Regions from separate parts of the Homo sapiens genome. Here all the other regions are linked to region 2. Evidence: promoter capture Hi-C in 16 types of primary human blood cells and fetal thymus (Javierre and others, 2016). All regions are on one chromosome and are shown on one strand. Each heading gives the region's core, a stretch centred on a gene start or on the middle of the fragment in contact. The rest is flanking DNA. Distances are from core to core; before and after follow the strand shown. Region 1 has its middle 3.7 kb from the start of ZNF322. Region 2 holds the start of H4C8 (H4 clustered histone 8). Region 3 holds the start of H4C2 (H4 clustered histone 2).

Region 1 (4,259 bases), core at 881-3,380, 380 kb before region 2:
GAAATCTGAATGTAAATGAAAAACAAAGATATAATAAAATCAAGAGACAGAGACAAAGACAAAAAAAAAGACTCAAAAAGAAAAAAGTTTCAAATTTTTTTGCACTTGTTTGGCATCTACGGGCTCAGAAAACTTTGGATCCAAAAAGAAACAGAGAGCATGGTTCCCCTTAGAGCAGCAGTTCCCAACCATTTTGGCACCAGGGACTAGTTTCGTGGAAGACAAATTTTCCACAGATGGTGGAGGGGGATGGTTTTAGGATAATTAAAGCATATTACATTTATTGTGCACTTTACTTCTATTATTATTACATTGTAGTATATAATTAAATAATTATAGAACTCCCCATAATGTAGGATCAGTGGGAGCTCTAAGCTTGTCTTTGTGCAACTAGACTAGACTCACTGGGCAGGATTTACATAAAATGTCTCATTAACTTAGATACAGAGTCTATGAGTATAAAAGGTACAGCACAGTGAGGCTTACAAATGTAATTCAAATACTCATCTGGGAGTAATGGGAGACAGTGACAGATCATCAGACATTAGCTTCCCATGAGGAGCATGCAATCTAGATGTCTCTCATCTGCAATTCACAATAAGGTTCGCGGTCCTATGAGAATCTAATGCCACTGCTGATCTGACAGGAGGTGGACCTCAAGCAGTAAGGCGGGTGATGGGGAGCAGCTGTAAATACAGATGGAAGCTTCACTCACTTGCCCATCACTCACCTCCTACTGTACAGCCCAGTTCTGAAGAAGCAACTAACTTGTATGTGGCCCAGGGGTTGGGGACCCCTGCTTTAAAGAATTTTTTTCTTTTTTTGAGACAGGGTCTCACTCTGTCACCCAGGCTGAAGTGTAGTGGCACAATCTCAGCTCACTGCAGCCTCAACTTCCCAGAGGACTCCAGGGATCCTCCCATCTCAACCTCCTGAGTTGGTGGGACCACAAGTGTGCACCACTACATTCGACTAATTTTTGTATTTTAGGTGAAGATGGGGTTTCACCACATTACCTAGGCTGCTCTTGAGTTGATCTCGAACTCCTGAGCTCAAGCAATCCACCACCTTGGCTTCCCAAAGTGCTGGGATTACAGGTGTGAACCACCATGCCAGCCCTAGAACTAACATTTTAATGGGTATCTATTACATGCCGAGTCACTATGATGATACCTTTGCATTAATTACTACATTTCATTCTTACCTCAGCTCAGGGAGGGAGGTATTGTCTTATGAACTTGTAACAGTCAAGATGGAAAGACAAAGTAGAGCACTGTAAAACAGATAAGCTGGAGAGCTGGACGGAAAACACAGAAAAGGCAGCCACGCATCATTCAGGAAAAGGAATAATGGTGAATAGCCAGATAGATTCAATGTATGAGAGAAAAGGTAAATTAAGAAGAGATGGGCTGGATGCAGTGGCTCACGCCTGTAATCCCAGCACTTTGAGAGGCCGAGGCGGGCAGATCACCTGAGGTCGGGTGTTCGAGACCAGCCTGGTCAACGTGGTGAAACCCTGTCGCTACTAAAAATACAAAAATTAGCCAGGTGTGATGGCGCATGCCTGTGGTCCCAGCTACTTGGGAGGCTGAGGCAGGAGAACCGCTCAAACTCGGGAGGTGGAGGTTGCAGTGAGCTGAGGTTGTGCCACTGCACTCCAGCCTGGGCGACACAGCAAGAGTCCATCTCAAAAAAAAAGCCAGGCACAGTGGCTCACGCCTGTAATCCCAGCACTTTGGGAGGTCAAGGCAGGTGGATCTCTTGAGGTCAAGAGTTCCAGACCAGCCTGGCCAACATGGTGAAACCCCAACTCAACTAAAATATAAAAATTAGCTGGGCTTGGTAGCGCATGCCTGTAATCCCAGCTGCTTAGGAGGCTGAGGCAGGAGAACTGCTTGAATGAGGGAGGTGGAGGTTGCAGTGAGCCGAGATCATGCTACTGCACTCCAGCCTGAGCGACAGAGCGAGACTCCGTCTCAAAAAGAAAAAAAAACAAAGAAAAAAAGAAGAGATGACATGGATGAAAGACCTTTTCTGTACTAAGTTAAAATCTAGTTGGAGTAACAGGTACGGAACAATCACCAGAACTCTCAGTAACAAGCTGCAGCAGATGAAGAAAAATTGAGGCCACTAACGTTGATTTTGGGTCTGACTCCTGTAAATCTCCATTAACAGTGCATGCATCAGGATCCCAAAAATCGCAAATATGCCTGCCGTAGAGACACAGAAGAGGACTTTCTCTTTTTCAGAGTTCCTTCGTGGAAACTTTCAGCTTAGATTTCGGCAGGAAAAATTCTAACATAGCCAAAACCTGCCATAGTATTCTTTAGCCTTCCTCTGACCCCAGTTGTTTCCTTAAGTACCTTGGGAATTTCCACTGAAATCTTGATTATGTCCTGTTCTTTAGATCATCTGTCTGTCCTTTATTGCATGGTCTAAGGTATTCCTTTTTAGTGTGTAAATCACTTTGGAAAATGATTTAGAAAAATAAAAAGACTGCATGGTGTCTAAGAAGAATTTAAAGGGTTTTCAAATGGAATTCCAATGTATCTACACCTTCCAAAAAAAACTCTCTCCTCAGTCTCAAATCCATTGATCACTTTCCTCTACAACTCATCAACTATCCATACTTTATCCAACCCCAACTCATACCCTGCATGCCTCTGACTTGCTTGCCTAATCATGTTCATCCAACCAACATTAATTGATCATATAAGTAACCTATTTGACGTCACTTTCTACTCAAATTTACCTTTCCACCTCAATATGATTCATACACTAAACCTATGTTGTCCCCTGATCCTGCTCCTTTTCCCTGATCTCCAATCTCTTATCCTTCTACTTGACATTAGTCCAAACTTATATTTCTTATTTCCCAAATCGCCATGTCCTTATTCTTACCAAATATTTGGCCGAACTAAAGATATAACTCAATCTTTCTCTCCCATAATCAGATCTTATCACATTAGTTCAGTCACTCACATGATCTAACCCTCTTAGGTGATGTCTCTTTATTCTCTCAGAAGGAGAAATCCTAGGAAACTGCAATTCCCTGCCTCATCTTATCACAAATGCTGCCCCTTATAAACGAACTGCTTCCACAGAATATGTTTCCATACAAAGGCTACTTATATGATTGTCAGATGCAATACAGGATGCCCAGTTACATTTAAATATCGGATAAACAATGAACCATTTTTTTAGTGTATGTCCCATGGGAAAAATATATTCCCTAAAAACTTTTTTAAAATCTATTGTTTATCTAAAATTCAAATGTAACTGGGTTTCCTGTACTTTTTTCTTTCTAAATTTGGCAACCCTAGATACATACACTCTCCATAGGACCAATCTACTTTCCAGTGGATAATCTCAGAAAGAAGTTTCAGACCTACTGGCTTCTAGGAAACAAGATACTGAAATGCACCTTTCCAGGGGCTGCAGTTCACAATTTCCCACTTGCTCAACTCTAGTCACAATAGTCTTTCCATACCCTTCATCTCTATCCTCAAAGCCAGATCCTCTTCAGAACCACAAGAAGTATGTTGCCCAAGCTTGGTCTGGAACTCCTGGGCTCAAGTGATCCCCCCACCTATGCCTACCAAGCAGCTGGGGCTACAGGCATGTGCCACAGTGTCTGGTCAAAAACCTCTTAACTGAAACTCTCCTCCCTTGGTTGTCGTAGTCCACTTTTGTTTTCCTCATAATTTCCTGGCTGCTCCTTCTTACTCTTTATCCTCATACTTAAAACTAAAAATAATCTTTCTAAAGATTTTAAATGTGGGGATAATTGCCCTATTTCCACAGCTTGAAATTCCAAGAATTGCTTCCCATTTCATATAAGATAAATTCCACTAACTGAAATCACATTCAAATGTCTCTGTACTTATTTTCCATCTTCCATTTCAGGCTCATCTTCAGCCAACTCCTTACTTCTATTCCTTCGAGTCTCACCTTATGTCTCATCTCCTACAGAGTCTTTTCTGACTCTTTCTCAAAGTTCTTACAAAGTGCTTCACCTCTATGCCCCCAGATGACCTTATACAACTTCTACCTCTACCACACCACCTAAAACCCCTGCCGTCTCCATACCAGACTGTGAGCCATTAAAGGAGTGGTATTGAGTCTCACTGGCCTTTAATTCCTAACACACAGCATAGTGTCCTGTTTTTTTGGTTTTTGTTTCTTTTTGACATGGAGTTTCACTTTTGTTGCCCGGGCTGGAGTGCCCTTGGCTCACTGCAACCTTCACCTCCCAGGTT
Region 2 (4,429 bases), core at 1,887-4,386:
GTATCAGCCCTCTTTAGAAGCTTGGAGCTAATTCCAGCAAGGTTTAGAGAAGCTTAACCCTTGGATCTACTTTAAACAGCACCTCAATGTCTCTTTTATAATTATAGGAATAATGTTATTGTGTCTCTGTTTTCTGTTTATGGTCTGTAAAATCGGCTGGACCACCAACTGGCAATTGAAAGCTGCAGTCTGGAATTGCCTTTATTCAATTAATGCAAAAACAAAAAGGGGGAGATGTTGGAGGCCAAAGGAATGAGGGACGTGACCAACTCAATATACCACTGGAGGGTATATGAGCAAACAGCAAACTGTTCTCATGAAAGCAGCATGCTGGCAAACTGACAAGTGCATCTGCCACTAGAAGGAATGCTGAGAGCAATCACGTCCCAGGCACCGTGTTCCTTAAGGTTATCTATAGGAATATCTAGAGTCTGTTGAACAAAGAAAGCAATCGTCAGCCTGTGATAAATCCAGTAGCTGACCGACAGTTACCCCTTCCTCCTTGTTCACTCTACCTAATAAATACGAAGGGCTGTAGAAGCTCAGGGCCCTTGTTCTCTAGAAGCTAGGAGCCCCTTGACCCCTTCTTTTAAACAAATCCTTTTGTCTTTGTCTTCATTTCTGTGTTCATCCTCCTTCATTCAGTCCTATAGTAACAGCCACATTTACCTGTGTATATACATATTTTTTCTGCTTTTCTTGCATTGTATCCTGTGCTGTAATGAATCTTTTTTGTTTTTATTTTTAAAACATGTTCTTTAACCCAAACAAAAAATGGTCAATAGATATAATAAATCTTAACTGAGAGTATGCTGAGTCATGTGATTACTTCTGGTGAATTACTGAATTAGTGGGTGGTCATGGGATTACAAGCACTATTTTCCTTATTCCCAGTGCACTTAGTGTACAATCCTTTCACAGAATTACTGTATTGCACTCTACATATTTACTTGTTTAAAAGCATATGGGCCAGGTGCGTTGGCTTAAGCCTGTAATCCCAGCAGTTTGGGAGGCCAAGGCTGGCGGATTGCCTGAGGTTAGGAGTTCAAGACTAGCTTGGCCAACATGGTAAAACCCTGCCTTTATTAAAAATACAAAAATTAGCTGAGTGTGATGGCAGGCACCTGTAATCCCAGCTACTTGGGAGGCTGAGGCAGGAGAATCTCTTGAGCCCAGGAGGTGGAGGTTGCAATGAGCCAAGATCGTGCCACTGCACTCCAGCCTGGGCAACAAGAGTGAGACTTCATCTCAAAAACAAATAAACAAACAAAAAACAAAAAACAAAAACAACAAAAGCATATCTAGACTGTAGACTACTTAAGGTTTTTTTTTTTTCTTAGTTCCTAATACAGTATGTGACACATAAATATCTGAATAGGAATCCTTTCTGAGAGAGAGAAGCATAAAGCAGTCCACACATATGTTTAAAAAATAAGCACAGCGAATAGTTCTATTTGAGATATTAAAGGATGGTAGAGAGTAGAGACACATTTACCAGTAGGGTCCGCAAAAATGTTTTTCTCAGGTCAGAGTTCAATCAGTGCTATGAAGACTCCACACCCACCTCAAAATGCAACTCATTTTCCGAGATTAAGATCCTTGTAGGTGAAAAGAATCTGTGTGGGGATTTAGGAATTCCTAGTCGATTGCCTTAACTACTTGGCAAATAGTGCTTTCTGAATTATGTATCAAAAGATATAAAACTCCATTCCTGGGCTCCCACCCCACCCCACCCTTGGCACTCAGTTTATGTAAGCATTCTCCTTGCTTGGCAGGTTAACTTACAACTGTCATAACTGGCTGCAACAGTGGTATAGCCTCTAAACAAGAGAAATTTGCTTTGTTTACAGATGACATATTGATTAATGACACTTGGGTGTCCATGAAAATCAAAATTGTACATGCAGAGATTGTAGTTTCACATTATTTCCCGGAAATGCTTGTAATTCTGGAATTAAAGAAATACTCGGGTTCATTTTGTTTTCTTTCGTCATTGTTTAACCTAAAAAACTGTAACTTAAAAAAAAGGGATCCTCAGGAAAATAGACGGGGGGGGAGAAAAAAAAAGGACCTAGCAGAGGATGGTTTCGATCCATCGACCTCTGGGTTATGGGCCCAGCACGCTTCCGCTGCGCCACTCTGCTGTTCTGCCAGGCACACGGTCTCACAGTACTCTTAACTACTTACAGGAGATGCGTTCAGACTACCTCGTAATTTAAGAAAAAACCTACGAGCAGTTGCCTACTTCTTTGGCTACCACAGGTTGCCAACTCACTTTGGAAAAAGGAATCACCAGAATCAAACAGAAAACAAAACTAGGGATAGAAAAATAAATATCAATACACTGGTGGGCTAGGCGCGGTAGCTCACGCCTGTAGTCACTGCACTTTGGAAGACCCAGGCAGGCAACATAGCGAGACCCTGTCTCAATAAAATTAAAAAAAGGAAAAAAAAAAACCCCCACCCCGAAACCTACACACTGGGTGCAGTTGTGAGGGGCAGTTAGATATTTAAATGGCAATTACAAATTTTAATAAGCAGGGAAAGAAGAGAACAAACTGGGAATAGAATCAGGCCTCCGCGCGGAGGGCAATAATTCTACCACGAATCACTAACCTATCATGCCTTCGCCATCGGGAAGAAAACCCTTTTGGTTATGTTTCCCTTGGCTTGGTGATGGAGAGGGTGAAATCTTGCAGTTTTCAAACACTTCCGAAGGGGGGTTTCGGTCCGCATGTGCTTTACAGCCGGCAGCAGAAAGCCAGTCACTGTGACCTTGGGGACAAAGCTGCACTCCTCAGGCTTCCGGTCTTGTGGACCGAGGCTCCTCTCCAATCGTCCTAAAGCAACTGAAGGAACAATTGATAACAATTTAAACATGTTAATTTATTTAATCTGATTTGGTTGTTAAAACAGCCTTAAAACTCTCATTCCTATTTCCCAGCAATTGCAAGAGACGCCTCCGCGGAGCCGGCGCTCAGATGCCAAAGGCTGGAGTCGTTGGTGACGTCATCCAGGGCTGGGCTATGCGGGGTGGGGCCAAGAAGCAGGACCAAAGTTCCGGTATGCGCGCTTTCAGTCTTCAATTAGGTCCGAATTCCCGGCATATAAGGGCGTTGCTTTGCCTTGGCGTTTAGGTTTCTTAAGTTGGTTTTAGAAGTTGCTTAGTCATGTCTGGCCGTGGTAAAGGTGGAAAAGGTTTGGGTAAGGGAGGAGCTAAGCGTCATCGCAAGGTTTTGCGCGATAACATCCAGGGCATCACTAAGCCAGCTATCCGGCGCCTTGCTCGTCGCGGCGGTGTCAAGCGAATTTCTGGCCTTATCTATGAGGAGACTCGTGGTGTTCTGAAGGTGTTCCTGGAGAACGTGATTCGTGACGCTGTCACTTACACAGAGCACGCCAAACGCAAGACCGTGACAGCAATGGATGTGGTCTACGCGCTGAAGCGACAGGGACGCACTCTTTACGGCTTCGGTGGCTAAGGCTCCTGCTTGCTGCACTCTTATTTTCATTTTCAACCAAAGGCCCTTTTCAGGGCCGCCCACTTTTTTCATAAAAGAGCAGACATCTTGTTATCCTGCTTTGTTCCAGATTTTTGCTGAGAAGTAGTTACTGTGCACATGTGTAGATTTGCAGGTAACGTTTAATTACTCGTGCTTAATCTCGCATGTTTAGGATTTGGGCATAAAGTACTTAAAGCCACTGTTTTCTGCTTGAGGGAAGTTGGTATGTTGAATATGTTTAGCTTTCTTGTGGCATTTTAACACTAGATATCAGTGAGTAAGCTGGATTGTGACAGTTTATAATTCCCGTGGGCCTTCCTCCTTCAGTTTAAGCTTGAAGCGTTCGTAAGGTTCTCAAAGACTACAGAAGTTGGAAACTTCGCGGAGAGACTGCAAGTTACCCTTTCCAAAATGGCGGGAAGGGCTAAAAACAAAGAAAGCTCGCACCCAGACGGCGGGCCTTAAACCAAGGCGAATCCGTGAGCGCAACACATCTGCGTGAGTAGGATCGCAGACCCAAGTCCAGGCGGCGTGCGCGCTGCTGCTTTTGACTTGGTGACAAAACTCGTCTACAAAAGGCAGTGTGGGGTAACAATATAAATGTTCACTTGAGAGCTTGCAAGTATTGTTTCCAATAGACTTAAAATGTGTTTTTGAATATTACGAAAATATTAAAAGGTAGGGTACCGCTTAGTGAGCAATATAGAAACATCACCATAACTTATTTTGTTGTTGTTGAGACGGAGTTTTGCTCTTTCATCCAGGCTGGAGTGCAGTGGCGCGATTTCGGCTCACCGCAACCTCCGCCTTACAGTTTCAAGCGATTCTCCTGCCTCAGCCTCCTGAATAGCTGGTATTACAGCCGCCCGCCTAATTTTTGTGTTTTTAGTAGAGATGGGGTTTCACCATGTTGGCCAGGCTGGTCT
Region 3 (4,690 bases), core at 1,904-4,403, 260 kb after region 2:
AAAAAAAGCAGTTAGCTACTTATATAATGAATTGGACAATTAGTAAAATGTAAAAATGCGCTAAAGCAAAGGGATTTAGGCTAGAATATATAACTGTGTAGAGAAGCGCCCAGCAAGGGCTAGTGCAAGGTTTGTACAGAATTCTCTTGGCCTCAGCCTCCTATCCTTGAGAAGAATGTTGCTTTTTTTAAACTACAGTGAGAACATCTTTCATATGAGAATTTCACCTACTGCTTCTAAGAAACAGGTCAGCTTTCAAGAAAACATAAGGCCAGAGTGATCTTTTCACGCCTGCTCTTTTAAGTACCTTTGAATAGTCAATATGTCTTCAAGCACTTGAAAGACTTAAAAAGTTTACCACTCCGGCATATTAGTGAAAGCCCTTAATATAAGCCCTTATTAAAATTCTCAGTCGAGGGTATAAATTCAGATTCAAATAGTAGTGTCGTAAACGGGAGGGAAAAACTAAAGGGATTAAAAAGTGAAACTATTGTGTTCTCCCTCGCAGTCCTTAGGTCACTGCCCCTCGAGGGGCGGAGCAAAAAGTGAGGCAGCAACGCCTCCTTATCCTCGCTCCCGCTTTCAGTTCTCAATAAGGTCCGATGTTCGTGTATAAATGCTCGTGGCTTGCTTTCTTTTCGCGTACCTGGTTTTTGTTGTCAGCTGGTTAGACATGTCTGGTCGCGGCAAAGGCGGTAAAGGTTTGGGTAAGGGAGGTGCCAAGCGTCACCGAAAAGTGCTGCGGGATAACATCCAAGGCATCACCAAACCGGCCATTCGGCGCCTTGCTAGGCGTGGTGGGGTTAAGCGAATTTCCGGTTTGATTTATGAGGAGACTCGTGGCGTTCTCAAGGTGTTTCTGGAGAACGTGATCCGGGACGCCGTGACCTACACGGAGCACGCCAAGCGCAAGACTGTCACTGCCATGGATGTGGTTTACGCGCTCAAGCGTCAAGGACGCACTCTGTACGGCTTCGGCGGTTAATCTTTTCGTCAGTTTTCTTCCAATGGCCCTTTTCAGGGCCGCCCACTCCCTCTCAGAAAGAGCTGTGATTGTATTCTTTCGGATGGTAACATCTCAATGGCTTTACTCGGCTATTCTGCCTAGTATGTAGAACTATTATAAACCAGTTGGGAGAGACCAGGTTGTTTGGTCTGAGTGGCTGCTAAAGCAGAAATCAGCTAAGTAAACGAGGTCTCCGAGATAAGTGAGCTATAAACTTCAATGCTATAGTTTTGACATGTCAAGCAACTTAACGTGCAGCGCGAGTCCGATAAATGAGTAGCTCAGCTTTTTAGTTTTAAAAACGAGTTGTGCGTTATTTGTACGAGAGCCTAAGATGCTAGCTGCCTGGAACTGAGTAGGTGGATTAAAATGGGTGTCAGGTCTGTTTTCCCAGGCGTATCTGACTTAACGTCAGCAAAAGCTGTACTTTTAGCTTCCCTGGTAACACCTGCCGTCCTTAACCGCCCCCTGCCGGTAGCGCCAGAAGCCTTTACTTCCATTTCTAGTTGAGCTTGGCGTCCTGCTGAGTGACGTCACCTCCCCCTTCTCTGGAGTAGGACTGGCGGTTAAAGCTGCTTTGCTATTTTCAGTCCTCAGGCTGGAGGCTCCCCTAAGCAGGCTGCCTACGCAGTTCGTAAATTCCCACTTAGTAGACTAAGGGAGTCTGTTTTATAAATAAGGACTCAAATTTCTTCTGACTCCGAGGTCCGTGGCAGCAGCTATAAGATGGAAGCCCCCTCTGATGTAAGATTCTCAGATGACTTGCATCTTCACTGTACCTGTCAACCCAATAGTCTTCTATTCCTGCCTTAAATTGTAAATTCCAAAACTGATTTAATTGTGAAAGTTTCAAACTGTACGACCTAGGAAGTGTCAAAGTTAGGTGACCAGATTTTTAGAAGTCAGCCAAATATTCAGCATCTTTGATTTAGTAACAAATATATTGATGGCTACTTCAGCAAAAAAAATCAACTTTGTTTTCTGGTTACTTTGCTAACAAGCTTCTCCTGACAGGAGGATATAGTGAATAGGCAGTTGAATAAGTGAGTTCGGGTGAGAGGTCTGAGCTGGAGATAAAAATGTGTGAGTCATCAGCAGATAAATAAATGCTGAGACCAGATGAGATGGCTAAAAACTGAAACATAATGTAGTGCAGCATTGTTTGTAATAGTAAATGAGTGGCAACTGTAAAGTTTTCATCAGAAAGGACTAGAGTGATCTATACATCCATAAAATAGAGTATTTCTCTACACAGCCCTACTAAAGAATGAGAAAGCTGTACTCCACTACATACTCTGGTGTACTCTGGCTCAGTTCTTGGACTCCTCTTTTCTTGGCTAACTCAACTGGCCTCACCACTTACATGCTCTGTGCTCTGTCAAATAGTTTGTTCAACAGAACACCACGGCCTAGCTGTAAGTGCCACGTTAACTTCTAGCAATGCCAAAGCCTGTGATAGTGGCAGCTTCGGGCTGTTTCTCATTCCCGGGATGCCTAACCACCTCTCCAAATTCTATCAGTTTGCTTCCACCCACTTCAAGCTTCAGAACGAAACATAGAGCTTAAGAAATATAGGCCCGGCAAGGTGGCTCACGCCTGTAATCCCGGCACTTTGGAAAGCTGAGCCTGGTGGATCACCTGGGGTCAGGGGTTCGAGACCAGCCTGGCCAATATTGTGAAACCCCGTCTCTACTAAAAAAAAAAAAAAAATTAGCTGGGCATGGTTGCGGGCGACTGTAATCCAAGCTACTCGGGAGGGTGAGACAGGAGAATAGCTTGAACTCGGGAGGCAGAAGTTGCAGTGAGTTGAGATCGCGCTATTACACTTAGGCCTGGGAGACAAGAGTGAAACTGTGTCTCTAAATAAGTGTTTGCAATTATAAACCATCTCCCTGACCTTAAATCTCTAGACTCATATACAACTGCATATTTGATGTATCTAATTGAATAATGGGCATCTCGAACTTGTCCAAAATATGTTTATACGTAAACACCAAGTCTGTTCTTCCTCTGATATTTGTCATGTCAATCAATAGAACTCCATTCTTCAAGCAGCTTGGGCCAGGAATTGTGCAATATTGTTTGTCCTGAGCTTCTTACAACTTTCACCCAATGCAGTCAGCTCTGTTGAAAATCAATCAGAATACCTTTCATTGTTTTCTTTGCTGCTTCTCTAGGAGCAAGCTGCCATGGCGGTTTGTCTGAATGACCACAGTGACCCCAAACTGGTCTTTGTTTTCACTTTTAATCCCCCTGTCATACAGTTTTTTCTCTATCCAGCATCAACAGTGATCCTTTTTGAAGGTATTATGTCCACTGTCTGCTGAAAAGATTCCACTGGCTTTCCATCACCTTCATAATAAAAACCAGCATCCTTATCATAGCCTACAAGTAAGATGACCAACCATTACAGTTTGCCTGACTCTCAGGGGTTTCTCAGGGTGTAAGACTTACAGTGCTGAAACTTAGAAAGTTCCAAGCAAACTAGGATGAGCTGCTCAACCTACTAGATCTGTACTCTGGCTACCCTCTGACCTCATTCTCTTCGCAGTTCTTTCTCTTCACTGACCTTGCTGTTTCTGGAATGGACCAAGCATTTCCAGCATCAGCACCTTTATATCTATTCTTTCTCCCTAGAAGGGTCTTGTCCTGGATATCTGAATGGCTCTAGATCTCATTTCATTCAAGCCTCTCCTCAAATACCAACCTTACGAAAGAGACCTCCCATAATCATCCCTTGTAAAATAAGCTTTTCTGCTCATTTAGCATATATATATATAGTTGACTATCCTCAATAGCATATATATATAACATTTCCCCACCTAGAATTATATATGTAATAATATATTTAACAAAAAATACATATAACTAGATATATTTTATTTTGTGTTTGTTCTCTCTCCCCCAACTGGAATATATTTTTTGAAGGTAGGGACTTTGTTTTGTCCCAGAAGTATCCCTAGCACCTTGAACAGGGCTGACGTTTAACAGGTAGTTTATGGAGGTTTGTTGAATGAAAGGATGTGTGAATTTTCTATGTAAGTCTCCAGGCTCTCCACTAAGCCCACCAGAATGCTAACACAATCAATTCCCCATCTCATTCCTTGACCTGCCACTGCCTGAAGCAATCAGCGTGCAGTTTCTCTTTAGAAAATCTGGGGGATAGTCTAGGGGTTGCAAATTAAGCAACATTATCTTTGTTCTGAACAAGGACTGCATGAGTGTTAGGACTGAAGAAGGCCCAAGGTGGTGGTGGGTATGCCTAAGATGAGTATGACATATCAGCAATGCTATGAACATAGCAATGCTATGAAAGGCCAGGCAAAACGTAACAGGAGCTAGTCGTGGCTTATTGTTACAACGACTATACCTCCCATATGGGTAATCGATATCCACACACCCCTCTACATTGACTCTGGAATTCAGGAAAGGGAATTAAAATTTTCTAACTTATGTACCCCAATGATTTCAACAATATCTGGCATATGAGATCAATAAATATCTTTAAAATACCAACTAAGAAAGACATAAAATGACCCACCCTCCATACCAGGCTCATTTTTGCTCCTCTGATTCCTGAAACTATCCAGAATGCAGCTATGAATTCTCTCCATTGTCAGTTTTAAATTAAGCCAAGCTGGGTACTTGTGTAATTCCTCAAGAAATCCTGGATGAAAACTGTCA

Evidence for each region. Contacts are between HindIII fragments. The CHiCAGO score rates a contact against its expected background, and 5 or more counts as called.
Region 1: a contact is called between a fragment that was not itself captured here and the fragment with the promoter of H4C8 in region 2, in 1 of 17 cell types (neutrophils). The highest score is 5.6, in neutrophils.
Region 3: a contact is called between a fragment that was not itself captured here and the fragment with the promoter of H4C8 in region 2, in 2 of 17 cell types (M0 macrophages and monocytes). The highest score is 6.8, in M0 macrophages.

What each region holds. Positions count from the first base shown.
Region 1 is chr6:26,661,309-26,665,567 of GRCh38, reverse strand. No RefSeq gene overlaps it. Among named protein-coding and RNA genes, the nearest start is that of ZNF322, 3.7 kb to the right of the region's middle. The HindIII fragment of the contact is 2,846 bases long and covers 708-3,553 here.
Region 2 is chr6:26,284,241-26,288,669 of GRCh38, reverse strand. It overlaps H4C8 (H4 clustered histone 8), which reads left to right and starts at 3,136. Exons shown (of 1, transcript NM_003543.4): 1 at 3,136-3,544. The coding sequence starts at 3,171. The coding sequence ends at 3,482. It overlaps TRX-CAT1-2 (tRNA-iMet (anticodon CAT) 1-2), which reads right to left and starts at 2,144; the gene lies at 2,073-2,144. LOC124901287 (a long non-coding RNA gene) reads right to left here and starts at 2,990. Exons shown (of 2, transcript XR_007059520.1): 1 at 2,617-2,990. RefSeq lists a silencer at 2,356-2,405 and enhancers at 2,746-3,135, 3,286-3,445, 2,824-3,559, 2,652-3,851, 3,560-4,295. The HindIII fragment of the contact is 3,784 bases long and covers 55-3,838 here.
Region 3 is chr6:26,023,236-26,027,925 of GRCh38, reverse strand. It overlaps H4C2 (H4 clustered histone 2), which reads left to right and starts at 643. Exons shown (of 1, transcript NM_003544.3): 1 at 643-1,030. The coding sequence starts at 674. The coding sequence ends at 985. RefSeq lists enhancers at 1-574, 551-870, 891-950, 981-1,030, 1,971-2,265. The HindIII fragment of the contact is 1,208 bases long and covers 2,550-3,757 here.